Linked DNA regions of Homo sapiens: regions 1 and 3 are each linked to region 2. Evidence: promoter capture Hi-C in 16 types of primary human blood cells and fetal thymus (Javierre and others, 2016). All regions are on one chromosome and are shown on one strand. Each heading gives the region's core, a stretch centred on a gene start or on the middle of the fragment in contact. The rest is flanking DNA. Distances are from core to core; before and after follow the strand shown.

Evidence for each region. The method cuts DNA at HindIII sites, captures the fragments that hold promoters and counts their contacts. A CHiCAGO score of 5 or more calls a contact.
Region 1: a fragment that was not itself captured here is called in contact with the fragment with the promoter of PITPNM2 in region 2 in 7 of 17 cell types (megakaryocytes, fetal thymus, endothelial precursors and 4 more); the score reaches 12.9 in megakaryocytes.
Region 3: a contact is called between a fragment that was not itself captured here and the fragment with the promoter of PITPNM2 in region 2, in 3 of 17 cell types (fetal thymus, endothelial precursors and megakaryocytes). The highest score is 7.0, in fetal thymus.

The regions. Positions count from the first base shown.
Region 1 is chr12:123,034,933-123,038,038 of GRCh38, forward strand. All of the region lies in intron 2 of PITPNM2 (phosphatidylinositol transfer protein membrane associated 2), which reads right to left. Among named protein-coding and RNA genes, the nearest start is that of MIR4304, 26 kb to the left of the region's middle. The HindIII fragment of the contact is 1,602 bases long and covers 831-2,432 here.
Region 2 is chr12:123,149,599-123,152,646 of GRCh38, forward strand. It overlaps PITPNM2 (phosphatidylinositol transfer protein membrane associated 2), which reads right to left and starts at 1,492. Exons shown (of 26, transcript NM_020845.3): 1 at 1,155-1,492. It also overlaps a transcript of MPHOSPH9 not described here. RefSeq lists silencers at 1,046-1,135, 1,236-1,375, 1,396-1,655, 1,676-1,875. The HindIII fragment of the contact is 4,737 bases long and covers 1-3,048 here.
Region 3 is chr12:123,056,561-123,059,723 of GRCh38, forward strand. The region is part of intron 2 of PITPNM2 (phosphatidylinositol transfer protein membrane associated 2); the gene reads right to left. Among named protein-coding and RNA genes, the nearest start is that of PITPNM2-AS1, 23 kb to the right of the region's middle. RefSeq lists an enhancer at 1,934-2,435. The HindIII fragment of the contact is 3,331 bases long and covers 1-2,988 here.

The DNA.
Region 1 (3,106 bases), core at 382-2,881, 110 kb before region 2:
GAAGTAAAGAATTGTCACTCCATAAACAAGGGCCAGGGTAAGAACACCGTGCTCTTGTTTTACTCACAATCCTAACAAGGTACAGCATCTATTTCCCCGGTACTGACACAGTGAGTAATGATAGCTGGTCATGGAAAAGCAGGCAGATCAAATAAAACTAAGCAGCACAGACATGAGACATTCACAAGTCAGCAGTCTGAGCCATGCCATTAGGGGCAGATGACATCACTACATCCCAAGGGGGAGACTCTGAGTGATTTAACGTTTGGTTTCAGTTCAATCCAATAAGAAACATTTATTGGCATCTATTTTATTCCTTCCATTGGGCTATGTCTGGGAAGTAGATGAGACAAGATAAGCAGAGAGTGTGCTCATAGCCACCTCTATTTAAGTGACAAAGAATATATTTGATGAAGATTTGTCCCTAAGCAATCACATTTTTTTTTAACTGGGCCGGGCACAGTGGCTCACACTTGTAATCCCAGCACTTTGGGAGGCCAAGGTAGGCAGATCACTTGAGGTTCGGCGTTCAAGACCAGACTGGCCAACATGGTGAAACCCCGTCTCTACTAAAAACACAAAAATTAGCCGCAGGTGGTGGCAGGAGCCTGTGGTCCCAACTACTTGGGAGGCTGAGGCAGGAGAATCGCTTGAACCCAGGAGGCGGAGGTTGCAGTGAGCTGAGATCGCGCCATTGCACTCCAGCCTGGGGGACAAGAGTGAAACTCCGTCTCAAAAAAAAAAACAAAAACTTGGTGCTTGGAAGAGGCGCATACTCAGTTATCCGGAAAATGAAATCACCCCTTAAAACCCAAGCCCCAGATGGCTGAAGCTTTGCCATAAATATCATTTGGTCACCTCCAAAGGTCACATGCTGTTAACATGAAGCCAAGTGAAGGTTTTCAGGATGGATGATAAATAAATTTTACATTTATTTATTGTTTAGAGACAAGGTCTCACTCTGCACCCAGGCTAGAGTGCAGTGGTGCAATCCCAGCTCACTGCAGCCTTGATCTCCTGGGCTCAAGCTATCCTTCTGCCTCAGCCTCCAGAGTAGCTGGGACTACAGATGCACGCCACCCACACCCGGCTAACGGTAGTATTTTAGCAAGACTACTCCAAGGACAGCAGCCAGGGAGGATTCACAGTGACCATGGGCAGGACTCCTGCTAAGTGATAAAAGCAAGGGCCTGGCCAGTCAGGCAACTTCCCCAGGGCACGGCTCTCTATCGGGCATTGGAGTATCACCCAGGTGCTAAAGCATTACTGGGTAGCTAACAAGGTTGAGAAAAACATTTATCAGAACTCTCAGGAATACCAGTAGACAGGGTTAAAAGAAGTTCTTAAATAAGCCACTTAGGGAGAAAGACAGAGAGAGGAAAGGTCTGATAAAGGGGCTCCATCCCTTGTGCTAGCCTAAAACAGCGGCTCCCAGTTGTTTAGTTCACAGCAGGTAGGAACGTCAGCCCGAAGCCCATTCAAATTCTCACATCCATCCTGGCATTATGGGATGCCAAGGCAGGTGGACTGCTTGAGGTCAAGCAAGCTCAAGACCAGCCTGGGAAACATAGCAAGACCCTCCTCTCTATTAAAAAAGAACCCAATTCTCACATCCAGTTGCTTTAAATATAGTCCAAGTGAAGCTCTTTTTTAGCCGATTAGAGCCTAGATACTTTATATACCCCAGAAACTGCACCCAACATCTGCTGGCTGTAGATAAGATAACCCTGGATCCCAGACCCCAACTGCCCCTTGGAGGTCTCTGACCCAGACTCCCCATGGTGCTGCTGAGCAGCATCACCTGGACACAGAAATCCCCTCTAGCTCCCCTCTCTCTGGGAAGTTTCCTTGCCCTGTTCCCCTCCTTGGGGTGGCCCCAGGCCCTGCTATATCCATAAGGACTCTTGCTAGGAGGGGCTTCCCCTCTCCTGCGACCTGTCCACCAGCCTTTCTGATCCCTGATCAACCCCAAAGCTCCCCAGAGGCTGTGCTCAAGTGAAAAAAGACCATTGCTGACCTTCTTCAAGGTCAATGGGTCTAGCTAACAGCCCATGGGACCTGCAAGTTTAGGGCCTGAGGCCCTGTGGAGTTCTTCCCCATACTCCCAGACTCAGCTCCGCCTAGGCCCACATGTCTATTCTCACACCTGGCTGGAAGCTGAGGACACAGGAGAGAGAAGCAATGGCCCTACAGTCCCCAGGCTGCACCTTATCCTGTGAGGTGTGAAACAAGAGCTGGCTGGGCCGAAGTAGCAAGGGACCCAAGTCTGACACCTGGATGGACTTCCAGCTGGCTGGGAGGGTAGCACAGGCACCTGATCTGAGAAACTTACATACATAAAGGAGAGAGAGCTTTATGTTTGAGGGAAGTTGGAGGAAATTAGGGTTGGAGACGGGAAGGGAAAATTGAAGTTCAATGGGGGTTGTTTCTGAAGCTTCTTCACGTGGTTCTTCATTGAAGCCCCAGCATCGCCCAACTAGGAAGGCACAGCAGGTGCTTGGTGTGAAGCAGTACACCTGTGTGACGTGCAGCACCCACTCCGCCTCTGTGGGGCCTCAGGTGGGCTCCTTTACTGTGGGGCAAATGCAGTGACCCAGAGTGGGCAAGTCTCATTTAGTCATCTAAATAACATGGTCAGACACAGACTCTAAATGTTCTTCAGAAACCTTACGAGTCTAAGCATTCTGCCCTTTGGGAGTCTTAACCCCTCCAGCGTACATGACCTGCCCTGCTCATCCCCATGCAAATCAGTCCTTTCTCAATCCTCTCAGATTCCAGGCTCACCAGGCACTAGCAAGGTAGGACCCCCTGAGCCAGATTCATAATGTTCCTTAAATGTCTCCATCACCTCAAATAACAACCAGGGGTGAAATCTCGCAGCCTGAGCCAGCACCCAGACACTGGCTTGGGTCTCTGATTTCAAAGGCTCTGTGAGCACATGTCTGGAACAGATACCTAATGATGTTCCCCCACGGACAAGCTGTCAGGTGAGCTGTTAATTGCACAGGTGCTGTCCACAGCTCCGCTGGGATATTTTTGCGTGCAGGCAGAGGGACAGAGACAGAGAGGGAACACACACCTGGAGGGCCCAGAGGCCCCTTGGAGG
Region 2 (3,048 bases), core at 242-2,741:
CCCGGGAGCTCACCGTCCAGCAGGGGAGATAAGGCAGATGGAAAAGTAACTATAAAATAAGGCAGACGGTGATAAGAGTTACACAGGAGATACAGATAGCAGGCAGTGGGAGTTCAGAGCAGAGAGGAGTCTGGGGGATGGATGTTAGGGGAGATTCAGATGAAGGGGAGCACTTACTGCCTTCCCTCCAGAAGTGGGGGGTCTATCCTAGCAGCTCTGGTCACTCCCAGGTGGAGGCCGGGGAGAGAGCTGGTTGTGGACAAAGACAGATGTTCCAGTGAGGTCTCCTTTGAAGAATCCCGACTCTGGGTGGGGGAGGCAGGTAGGCCGGGGTGTTTGGAGAGGCACCCAGCCCACACTTCAGTGGGAGGGAGAGGAGTGCAGGATGTCTCTGCAGGAGCAAGTCGGTGGAAAGGGGACAAGCCTGGAGGACTTGCCTTGAAATGACATTTGCACCGCGCGCACTATGTTCACCTGGAGTGGCCGTTTGGGATTTCTTGCGGGGAGGCAGTGCACACTGGGGCGGGGGACACTGAACTTTCCCTCTCCCCAAGGCCCCCCGATCAGCCCTGCCACGGATAAGAAAGGATTCGGGGTGGGAAGAAGACAGAGCCGGCACCCCATTACCACACGAAGGGGGCACTGAGGATGGAGACGGGCCACACCCCAACCCTGGGCCCCCGACAAGCAGAGGCCACGGCCCGGGCCTGGGGACGTTCAGCTGGAGGCGGGAAGCAGAGAAGGCGGGCCGGGGGCTCACCTCCGCTTCCTCCCGATAGCCCCTTCCTCGCCCTGGCACCGGCACTGCCCACGCCTGCCCCCCGACCGCTATGACACTTGTCCCTGGCGGGGGTCCCCCACGCGGTCGCGACCGACGGAAATTCGGAAATCAGCGTTTCGGGCACGGATCCAGGGCCGGCGACTCACTGAGGCCAGGCTCGGGCGGTCTCCCGAGCGGGGCTCCCGTACGCCACACCCTCCTCCCTGCCCGGGTCTCCGCTCCCTCCTCCAGCCCCCGGCGGGCTGGAGGCTCGGCGGGCGGGCGGGCCGGGGCCTCTCTGGGAGCCGCCGCCCAGATCCCCAGGTCCCCGGCCAGCGCCCGGCACTGCGGGACTCACCGCGGGCCTGCGGAGCGGCCGCCCGGACGCACTCACCCCGCTCGGCGCGGCCGCGGGCTCTGTCCTCTTCGGGGCCCCGGCTGGGCCGCCGCCACCTCACGCCGCCTCACGGGGAGCGCCCGCCCCGCGGCCCCGGCCCGGCCGGCTGCGCCCCGCGCGCCCCCGCCGCCTGCTGGCCCCGGGCGAGCGGCAGAGCCCCGGCGGGCATTGCTCCCGAGCGTCGCAGGCGGGCGGCGGCGGCGCACGTGCTGGCGGGCGGCTCTCGCTGAGGCGGCCGCGAGCTGAGAAGGAAGCGCCGGGCGGGCGGCCGGGGCCGGCTGGACAGCTCTACGCCGCGGCGCCGCGGTGCCCCGCGCACCCCAGCGGCCGCTGCTGCCCGCGCGCGCCGGGCCGGGCTCGCATTCCCTCAGTGGCGGCGGCGCCTCCTCAGGCCGCGCGGGGGAGCGGCGGCGGCGGCGGCGGGGGCGCGTCCCTGCGGAGTCTCGGCCCGGCCCCGCCGCCTCCGCCGGAAGAAACCTCTCCGACTCGGGCAGCCCGCCTGGTTCCTCAGACCTGCCGCGGCGACCCCGCTCCTCCCCGGCTCGCCCGTGTCCTCAGGGCCCGGGACTGGACTCGGGGGCGGCGGCGCGGATCCCCGCCCCGGGCTCCTCGCCCACCGTCCGCAGCAGCCGAGCGCACTCGGGGGCGGGAACCGGCCGACTTGCGGCCACTGTGACTCTTAAAACAGCCTCATTTTAAAAAATGAAGTTTCTTAGGAGCGAAATGGTAAACCAGGGAGGGCAGAGCGCAGCGGGCAGCTCACCGAAGCCCAGCCCCGGGCGCGGTGCTCGCCACACGGTGGGTCCGCGCTCTCCCCTCAGGACGCCCGGGCCGCGGCCCAGGGAACGGCAGAGCCGGGAGCGCAGCCGTCCCGGTCCCCACCTCAGGGAGTAGCTGGAAGAGGATCACGAACAGTTTAATCCGGATGATCTGGCACGACAGGGCTCTCCAATGGGAAGAGCCCCCGGTGGGGGAGCGCCTGGTGACATTCCTTAAAAACATGAGGTGTTTGTTAGGTTGAGCCAGGGTGGACTTGTTTGGCAAAATCTGAAGTCATGGAACTAAAGAGAGCACACCTAAAACTTAGTGATGTGTGACCCATCCCTACTTGTCACCTTATAAGGCTGAGGAGACGGCGGTGCTCCCCTGGAGGAGAGAGGACAAGCTAAAATTAAGGCGGCCTAGATGACTCCAGATGAAGCCGGGGAGGCCGAGCCCCTGACAGCTGCTCACCTCCTGGGGTCACGGCAGAACCCAACTGAACGGGCCAGGAAGGCCATCGTTCCCGACTCGCCTCCAGGTGCCCCTGACCATGACCACGCAGAGGAGGACCAAGGCGTACCACCATCACCTAGAACGCTTCAGCTCCTTCCCTCCACCAAGAGGTGCCCTAGGATCCATCCAGAAAGATCTGCGGAGCCCACAGAGTCCCAACGGGAACTGTGCTCCTGGATGGACGCCCCTTAACCCATAACTCAAGGACTTCTCTATGCCTGGGACTTAAAATCACCAACAACCCGCTCCTGCAGCCAGCTAGCAGAAATAAACACACAAAGGCCACACGCCAGTTCACAGCCACAAGTATTTATTGAGTGCCTGTAGTGCAAGAAAGAGAGATGGTCCCTGCTCCCGCGGAGCTTACAGCTTCACGACTCCAGCATCTGGCTAGATTCAGAAACAACTGCAGCAAGCACTTGTCTACCCACCAGCAGCACTGTAAAAAGCACATTTCTCACATTATCGGTCACTGTTACAGTGAAATTGTTAGATGTAAAAATTATCCTTGAAATCTGTAGTCATAGAGATGACATGGTACATAATGTCCAGCAAATGCACATTTATGGCTTGATTCCTCACATATCTGAGGGGTCTATGGAAATAAAGTACAAAT
Region 3 (3,163 bases), core at 73-2,572, 93 kb before region 2:
CCAGACCCAGGAGTGGCCTCCTGCTGCCGGACACGAAGAGGGAAAGAGCTGAGCTGCCCGGCCCTCTTCTTCTAACAAGCCCTCCTGGGTTGACAAAGAAAGTCTCTCCCTGCACTGGGTGACACTGGACACTGTCCCTGTCCTCTCCCGGGATGCCCCAGGCCAGGGGCTGGGATAGCCTCAGGGCCTGGCTCTCTCCATACCCAGCCCAATCAGGGGTCCTGTGCCCAAGATCCTATCAAGATGGGTGCTAAGAATCACAGAGAATGGGGACAACCTGCAGGTCCCTGCAGGACTTTGCAGACCCAGGAGGTGGCAGTTCACTGAGGTCTAGCCCCTGGCCTTGAATGGGAACCAAGCAGGTGTGAACTGGGAGTAGAGGCCACCGATCTGCTGCTCAGCCTTGGACAAGTCAGAGTACTCAGAAGCCTCGGATCCCAAATGTGAAAGAGAAAAGCGCGTCTGAGTGTGTGTGAGAATTCCTTCCTAACCGGGGAGCATATCTTCAGGGCAACTTCAGGTTAAAAATCTAAATTCAGGCCAGGCGTGGTGGTTCACGCCTGCAATCCCAGCACTTTGAGAGGCCGAGGCGGGTGGATCACCTGAGGTTGGGAGTTCAAGACCAGCCTGACCAACACGGAGAAACCCCGTCTCTACTAAAAATACAAAATTAGCTAGGCATGGTGGCACATGCCTGTAATCCCAACTACTCGGGAGGCTGAGGCAGGAGAATCGCTTGAACCCGGGAGGCAGAAGTTGCGGTGAGCCGAGATCACACCATTGCACTCCAGCCTGGGCAACAAGAGCAAAACTCTATCTCAAAAAAAAAAAAAAAAAAATTTAAATTCAAAAACAAACAAAAAGAACTTCTTCCTAACAGGAACATTCAGAAGAACTAAGGAAAGAATGTCTCTGAGGGTGCAAATGGTACCATTGGTCTCCTCACCCTACAAGTATTTACAAAGTGCCGTAGACAAGACCGCATCTGAAATCAGAGCTGGGCGGGAGGCAGGACCTGTGGTTTCTAAGTGCTCTCTCCACTTCCCCAGGCAATGGGCCTATGGACACCAAAGCTGGGGCGCCCGGCCAGAACCTGAAGCCCCAGGGCACATAGAGGCTGTAGGCTCTGGTGGTGACGGTTCATCTGAGTTACAAGCGGCTGAGCCTCCTGGGCTCCCCACCGCGACGCCCACCCCTAGTTGAGGAACAAGCCCTAGGAGGCTATGGGAAAGAAGGAGGGGGAAAGCAGAGCCATCTGGCTTGTCCTGAATTATTAACCACAGAGGAGGAGGTACAGCTAAGGCCCTGGGGGAATCAGGTGCAGCTGCTCTCAGAGTTGGAGAGGGGAACTGGAACCCTTTTGCAGATCCAAGGGATCCAGAGGTTGGAATGTGACCCTCCGTGCCAGCTGGGCCCCAAGTCCCAGGGACCCCTCCTGTACACCTGACAGGTGCTACCTCCTCTCTGGGCCACTAGGCAGCAAAAAACAAACTATGCCTTCATCCCCTGACCTTTTACTCTTCAAAGTACTTACGAACCCACGTTCTTCACTTCTTCTTTTTGGGCATTTTGTCGGAAGGATAAACCAAGGCCAGGTGAGATCAGACAATTCAGCCAAGGTTGTAGGGCTGCCAGGGAGGTGGTCAGGGTGTATACCAGGTCTCCGTCTCCAATGCCACCATGGGGTCCCCTCCCCAAGAATTCCAAGTCACCCATGGCTGAGCCATGGGAAGAACACCTGCTATGTCTCCCTCTAATTTGCCTTCTGCCTCCATCCCTTTTGATTCTGGCCCTCACCAGCACTCCCTGGGTGTCAGAGACAGCCTTCTAATTGGCCTCTATGTTTCCAGTTTGGTTCCTCTGAAATCCTCCTTCTAGAAACCATTAGAGGACATCTTCCCAATGCAGATGCAACCATGTTTGCCAGCTCCCCAGAATGTCACTGGAAGCCATCATGCCCCACCCACAGCCTCTCCAGGGCCTCTCTCACTCCACCATTCACCTGCTGTTCCCTGCTGTCATTCTTGTTGTTCCCTGTTTGCGGTCCTCAGCTCCAAAGCCCTCAAGAGCAGCACCTGCCTCTTACACCTCGGCCCCAAGCACTGCAGAAGCTGGTAACTGTTGCCTGAGGCATTTGCTCAAGGCCCCAAGCGCTGTAGAAGCTGGTAACTGTTGCCTGAGGCATTTGCTCAAGTGCTCAACCCCTGCTGGTTCTTTTGTGGAAAAAGCCCTTTCCCACGGGGTCCACCTGGAAAATTCTCGAAGTGTCTATTAAGAATCAGCTTACACAGCACTCACTCTGAGAAGCCCTCCGAGACTACTCTGGGCAAAGCTGAGTGCCCAGGTGCATTGAGAGCACCTCAGCCCCAGCTCCCACCACACCCCATTCCCATTGTCTGGGCCCAAACCATGAAGCTCAGGGCAGCACCCGCATCTGCTTCATTTCTGCATCTTCAGGGCCAAGCCCACAGCGAGGTGCTCTACAGATCTCCATAAGTACTTAGGAGAGGCACAGCTGTGGGGGCAGAGGTCAGCATCTAGGCAGGGAGAGAACCAGGCAGGGAGAAGGCCAACCAAGGATATCACAGGCTGAAGAGCCCATGTGTTTCCAGTCAGAGAGGAGGAGCTCACAAGCATGGGACCTTTTCTGGGGGCTCTTCCAAGGGCCATCTGGAGAGCAGTGAGTCAACCAGCCACCTCCTGTGTGGCTCAGCCCCTGCCCCTTTCCGTAGCAGCACTGAGCTACATAGCCTGAATTTGGTAAAAGGTCTCGGATGTGGGGCAGAGGGCCCAGAGAAGGTCAGGGAGGAACTGCCTGGGAAGCCAGATGCCCACAAGGCTCTGTGACTTCACTTCCAGGGTTCGGTCTGTACTCTCTGCAGTCAGGAGTACTGTCCCAGCTTTACCACCTTCTGGCCCTTTAGCACCTGGCCATACACACCCACTAATGCCCCCAGAAGGGTGGAGGCCCACTTCTCCCCCAGAACAAGCTTGACTGATTTGTTTTCATATCATCTGAGCTTCTCTCTTGGACAGTGGGAAGCTGGGAGCTCCACCCAGGCTGCACACAGGACTGGCTTGAGGGCCATAGAGCAGGAAATAAATGGTGAGCTTGTAGCACAGCAGGGACAAGGCAGAGCCTAAGAAAGGGCCCAGAGTCTGG